Linked DNA regions of Homo sapiens: region 1 is linked to region 2. Evidence: promoter capture Hi-C in human tissues and cell types (Jung and others, 2019). All regions are on one chromosome and are shown on one strand. Each heading gives the region's core, a stretch centred on a gene start or on the middle of the fragment in contact. The rest is flanking DNA. Distances are from core to core; before and after follow the strand shown. Region 1 overlaps LINC01166 (long intergenic non-protein coding RNA 1166). Region 2 holds the start of ADAM8 (ADAM metallopeptidase domain 8).

The links. The method cuts DNA at HindIII sites, captures the fragments that hold promoters and counts their contacts. A contact is called where the count stands out against the background at its distance.
Region 1: a contact is called between a fragment that was not itself captured here and the fragment with the promoter of ADAM8 in region 2, in 2 of the 25 tissues and cell types used here (H1 embryonic stem cells and dorsolateral prefrontal cortex).

The regions. Positions count from the first base shown.
Region 1 is chr10:132,950,531-132,953,434 of GRCh38, forward strand. The region is part of intron 1 of LINC01166 (long intergenic non-protein coding RNA 1166); the gene reads right to left. Among named protein-coding and RNA genes, the nearest start is that of CFAP46, 9.4 kb to the left of the region's middle. The HindIII fragment of the contact is 6,557 bases long and covers 1-2,904 here.
Region 2 is chr10:133,275,278-133,278,235 of GRCh38, forward strand. ADAM8 (ADAM metallopeptidase domain 8) reads right to left here and starts at 1,591. Exons shown (of 23, transcript NM_001109.5): 1 at 1,495-1,591; 2 at 207-310. The coding sequence starts at 1,540. RefSeq lists enhancers at 1-30, 1,034-1,681 and a silencer at 1,281-1,840. The HindIII fragment of the contact is 31,119 bases long and covers 1-2,958 here.

The DNA of each region.
Region 1 (2,904 bases), core at 200-2,699, 320 kb before region 2:
AGTTAAGCTTTGCTTACAGTTGAAGTCAGCAGAAAGAAATGCTTAAGATCGGAGGTTGTGGAAGTCAAGGTAATTTTTGTTTCATACATGAAGTAGCTTCAGAGAGAGTAGATGATAAACATCTCTTTCTGGACCTTAAAAGGTGCCATAAATCTCTTAGGTAAATCTCTCCCGGATCAGGAAAGGACCTAGTAAGGGAAGGCCACTCTCTATAGACACAATTTTCCCCTACAAGAGTGCACTTTTCCCAGCCATTTCAAAACATGTCAAAGAAACATATTTGGGAGTAAAATACTGTGCTTTTCTTTAGGGTCTGCTATCTGCTGTCATGCAATGCTATGCCAGAGTCAGGTTGGAATTTGGTATCTAATTGCCACAAAAAGTCTATTTGTCAGTCTTATGATCTCTACTTTAGTATAAATGCTGGTCAGCTGTGCCTAAGCTCCAACAGGGAGGGGGAGCCCAGCCTCCCTTCTCATCAATAATCCAGTTTTTCAGGTTTCCTGGGGTCCCCTTGGCCCAGAGGGAGTCCAGTCAACTGGGGGGGGGGGTCTTAGAATTTTATTTTGGGGTTATGAGATCATTAGATAAGTTAGGTCCAAACCTGGTTCATGTCCTACAAAAAGCGTAACCTCTAGGGTTATCTTCTCCAAAAAAATTTCCGCATTATCACCTTTCTGTAAGACGCCCTCCAGTTTCATGGGGCTGCAGTACGGCAGCCTTGGGGGCCGTAAGCGGGAAGGCAGTGAGGCCGCATTTTCCGAGGGAGGGGAGAGTGCTCTGCTGTGATACTAAAATCACTCACCACTAATTTTCCTCAATTTCAAACTTTGGAGATATTTTCTTGAACGTGGATTTTCTTCTTCATTGTTTTCTAGATATTCTGTAAAGAGAACTTTATTTTCTTTTGGCTTAATAGTTATGTTAGAGAGTTAAAAAATGTTCAGATGGTGAGGTTTTCCGCTTCACGGTATTGACTTCAACCGGCAGTGGTACTGCGCTGGGATTGGTGAACGTCGCCTGGCGGTGTGTATGCTTTGGAATTCGTGGTTTCCTCTGGGCCTCGATACGCCATCCATTTTTGTGATTGTTCCATGGGCACTTGAAAGGCCTTCGATGAATATTGGTTAGAACTGTGTTACTGACGACGCTCTTCAGGCCTCTGAAGTGTCTGTCTGGCTCTCCCTGCACACCCTTTGGCTCTGTCACTCACTCTCAGCAGATGCCAATTCCATCCCATTCGGAGCACAGGGGTTTGCTGGGGCTTCTCTGTGGCTCATATCCTTTGCTACCACCAAGTGCCCATCTGTCTCGGTCAGCACTTGTTTCCTTGAAGCCAGCCCTGGCGAGGAAGATCACAAACCTGCCTTTTCCCTGCTCCTTCACTGCTTCCTTTATTTTGGTATAATTTACATGCAGCAAAACGAACAGGTGGTAAGTGCTGCGTTTCCGTGAGTTTTGGAAGTGTGTGCACGTGGTCACCCACACCCCTCAGGACGGAAACCACCCTGTCACCCCACAGAGGCCCCTGTGCCCCTCCCAGTTGGCCCTACCCTGCCCTGGGGCACCTGTGCTCTGACTTCAGCCACCACAGACCAGAGTTGCCTGTTGTAGAACCTCCTATAACGCAGAGCACAGGGGTTTGCTGGAGCGTGTGCTCAACGTGGCAAGTGCAATTCTGCCCAAATCACGGAATTCAGACGGGACTAATGCAGCTCCTCCAGTCTCAGCGGCCATGACCCTGGAGCGTGAGGACTCCAAACCCCACTCTTCTCCACTCTTGGAGGGAAACACCTTGTGCAGCCCAGTGTGCAGACCTTTCCAGGAACACCCCTTCCCAGGGCTGGCACCCCCTGAGAAGTGAGTGGCAGCATGGTTTTGCTTCAGTCAAAGGAAAAAGTCTCTAAGTGTGGAGGTTAGACACCACTCAGAGGGGGCTGGATATTGTATTTGGAATGGAAGCTTTTGCCAATGTCCTGAAATCCCACAAATAGGGATCACTCACTCTGTTCTTTCTCCTCCCTCCCAGCTGAGGTGTGCAGAGAGAGAGGGCGGCATGCAGGAAGGGGTGCAGGTGCAGGTACTGCAGGGTGTGGCAGGGCAGGAAAAGCCTGCCCTCTGAAATGCAGGCCCTGGAAAGCCAGAAAATCCCGGAGTCCCATGGAGGAAGGATGCATCCTCTTGAGATGGCTGTGGATGCCCTGCTGGGGAAGTGAGATCCACGGACCTCTCTTCAGCTCTGGTCTCACCCGGAGCTCTCCCAGTTTATCCACAGTCACTGGGCCATCCAAAAGTCCACCCTGCCCATCTTAATTTTCCTTAAAAGCTGCATTGCCTCCTAACTTCAAATCATTAGCAAAGAGTTGTGCAAAACATTATCCAAGGATCTGAGCATCAAGCACTTTAATTCTCTCTGTCTGTGGTCAGTCTCACGTTCCCAGTCCTAATTTTGTGCATTGACATTTTCTTTGATTTGTTTTTCTTGCTTTAATTATCAGGTGGTTTAGCAGTTTCGTTGTGGTCATTTTTTTTCTTTTTTTCTTTTTAAACAGCTCTGAGAAAATAGTGAACCAGCAGGCATGGTAGGTTCCACTCCAAACCCCAGATGCCTGGGGACACTGGTCAGAGCAGGGAATGGCCGTGTGGGCAGTGGAGGAGGTGGGCTGTATGGGAGAACTCATTTCTTCTTCCCTCCCCTTGTCTCTCTGGCTGGTCACTGCTAACACTGTTGATGAAAAGAGTCAAACTCTGTAAAATAATTGAAGAGATTTATTCTGAGCCAAATACGAATGACCATGGCCCGTGACACAGCCCCAGGAGACCCTGAGGGCATGCGCCCAGGGTGGCCGGGGCACAGCCTGGTTTTATACACTCAAAGGAGATGCATCTCAGTACACTAAGATG
Region 2 (2,958 bases), core at 341-2,840:
ATAGAGCTCCTGAAGGAACGAGGAGGCTGGGAGCCCTCAGGCAGTGCTGGAGGGAGGAACGGAGATGGGCCCCAGGGGGCTAGAGCTGTACAGGGCAGCCCCAGACACCCACTGGCCTCTCACCACTTTCTGTAAGCTAAAGCTCCTTTCACAAAAATAGGCTCAGGGGCCAGCCAGGGACCCTCCCCAGGCCAGCTTAGACTCACCAAGTGGGAGGGCAGAGCTCGGCGGACTCGGGGGCCTGGCAGACGCCACGGCAACACGACCTCATACTGCTCCATGAGGGCCCAGGGCCGGCTGGGGGCAATCGCTGCAGGAGGGAGGGTCAGCAGGCATGAGGGGCCGGGGGGCAGGTTTCCTTCCCAGAGGCCTCCTGGGCCCTCAGATTCTGTCTCTTGCTGGGCTTGACCCTCCCCTGGGGAACTCACCAGATAGCTCTGGGACAAAGACTCAAGTGAGGGTTCTGTGCCTAAAAGACCCCAGGAGCGCCCCCAGGCATGGCCGGTGGGCCTGTGTCCTGCAGCACCCACACACAGTGCTCAGAGACGCTGTGGGTGCCAGCGGGTGCCAGTGACTCCACAGGTCTCCAGGCTGTCTCAGATCTCTGGAGGGGCCCGAGGGCAAGGATGAACCTTCCCCCCAGGGAGGAGGACTCGGGCCGCCGACCTGCCCGTTTCCATTCTCCTCCTCCATTCTTCTGATCATCTGATCGCATCTAACTGGGGAGCAGGAAGTGCCTCCCGGAGGCTGTTCACCTCCCAAGAACTGGAAACTCCCTGGTATCCGAGAGCAGAGGGCAGGGTCCCAGCATGCAATGGGCAGGGTTTCGGAGACCACCAACCCCAGGACCCTTTGCTCCCATTAAAACACAATAGTGGACGTGTCTCCATGACCACATCTCCAACCTGGAGAGGCAGCAGGGGAGCAGCCAGCCCCTATCTGCCCAGGAAACTGGCGGGAAGCAACCCGGCCTCCAGCCTGAAGCTCCTCAGCACACCCCAGCCCAAGTCACTCCAGGAGCAGGGGTGGGATCCAGGGTCAGCAGCCCCATGTCCTCCCCCAGGCAGGAGACGGGTCCCCTCAGCCCACACCCCTGCACTCCAGGCCTCAGCTTGTCTGCCCTCCCTTCCCTCCTCGGCTAAATAGTGGGGGTGGGTAGCCCCACAGGTGAATCCCAGGAACCCAGGGCGCCTCGCGCAGCAGGTGAAGCGTCCTGCTTGGCCCGGCCCCGACCCCACTAACAAGCTCAGAGGCGGGACTTCCCTCTCACAGTTCACCTTTGAAGGTTCCCTCCGACCTCCCCGGCCTCCCCGGCCCGGGGCTCTCCACCCAGAGACCACTGTGCACCTGATGGCCCGCTCCCAGGGACCAGCCCGAAGCCGGGCCAGGGTGCGGGGTGCGAGCAGGCCAGGGGCTCGGGGTCCGCGTCGCGTCCTGCGGGGAGAGCCACCCTGCCCCGCGCTGCGCCCGGGACGGTTCCCTGGAACCACTCACCAGGCAGCATCATCGCGCCCAGCAGCCAGAGCCCGAGGCCGCGCATGGCCGGGTCGGGGAGCAGAGGCGGAGGTGACAGCCCCGCGGGACACGGTCTGGTTCCTGCGCTCCTGGCCCGAGGCTCTTTTCCGCGCGCCCCGCCCCGGCGCCCCGCAGCCAATGGGCCCCTCGGCCGGTGGGAGGGGCGGGGCGCGCGGCACCTGGGGGCGGGGTCCGTTTCCCCTCTCCCCACAATCCAGCATCCTCCCTTGCACAGGTGAGGAAACTCAGGCACAGCCTGTCCCAAGTCCGGCCAGAGCCCCGAGAGGGGGCCTCTCGAAGGACCCGGCGGCTGGAAGGAGGTGGCGCCAGGCAGGTCCTGGAGGGGAAGGGACTTGTGAGGGCCGCCTGGCGGTTTCAGGAGAGGGGGTCTCTGATTTCCTGGGGAACAGAAAGCCTCAGGCAGGGGCAAGTCATGGCTTTGTGGGCATAGGTTCAGCCCTGTGGGAAGCTCTGCCACCCTCCCCCCCAAGCCTGCGCCCCCTCCACCAGGCTGAGGCCTCACCGGAGTGGGATAGGCATGGGCCCGCAGGCGTCCAAGTGGGGAGGGGGAGCCCTAGGTGGGGGTCCCAGCCCAGGTGATGGCAGGTGCAGGGGCCGTCCCTAGCCTAAGATCCCCAGACAGCAGCTGACGCTGGCCGACGTGGACCAAAGCCTGCAGCAGCCCACCGTGGCCTGGCTCCGGCGTCTCCAGGCCTGCGGCCAAGCGTGCTTGCCCTTGGTGACCACATTCCCCGTGGTGGGCTCAGCCTCGAGGGTGCAGGTTTGGGCTGACACCACAGCTCCCCAGACGGTCCACCCAGGACCCCTCCCTGGGGCTTTCACAGCCAGGCCGCCCTCCTGGAGTGGGAACAGTGGTGGTGGCAGGAAAGGCAGCTCAGATGACCACACAGGGCGCTGCTGACAGATCACATGGGGGGGGGGGGCCTCAGGGCCTCCCTGGGGAGAGGCAGGGCAGGGCCAGCAAGGGGCTGGAGGGAGTCCTGCCTGGAGAGAGGGCACCAGGGCAGGGCGAGTCAGGGAACTGCACGGGCCTAGGGGCAGAGGACAGAGGTCAAGGGGCAGTGGCAAGAAGAGGCCGGGGCCTCGGACGTTATCCTGGGAGGACAGGGAACCCGGAGGATCTAAGCTGGCGTGAGTGATGCTGTCACATTTTGTCTCAAAGCCATTCTTACCCTAATGTGAATGGCATGAAAAGCAAGAAAGCAAGGGCTGGCACTGGGCCGCAGGTGACTTCTGCTGCCTGGGGGTGTGTCCGCTTGCCTGTGTGGCACAGGACGAGGTCCCCCAGGCTGCCGAGAGGCTCCCAGGTAGGGCTGGGGATACTGGCCTGTGCCTGAGCTCATGCAGGTGACCCTGTTATTATAGAACAATGGCCAGCTGGCAATCACACTTCCCTTCCTTGACCTCATGGTGCAAGTTACT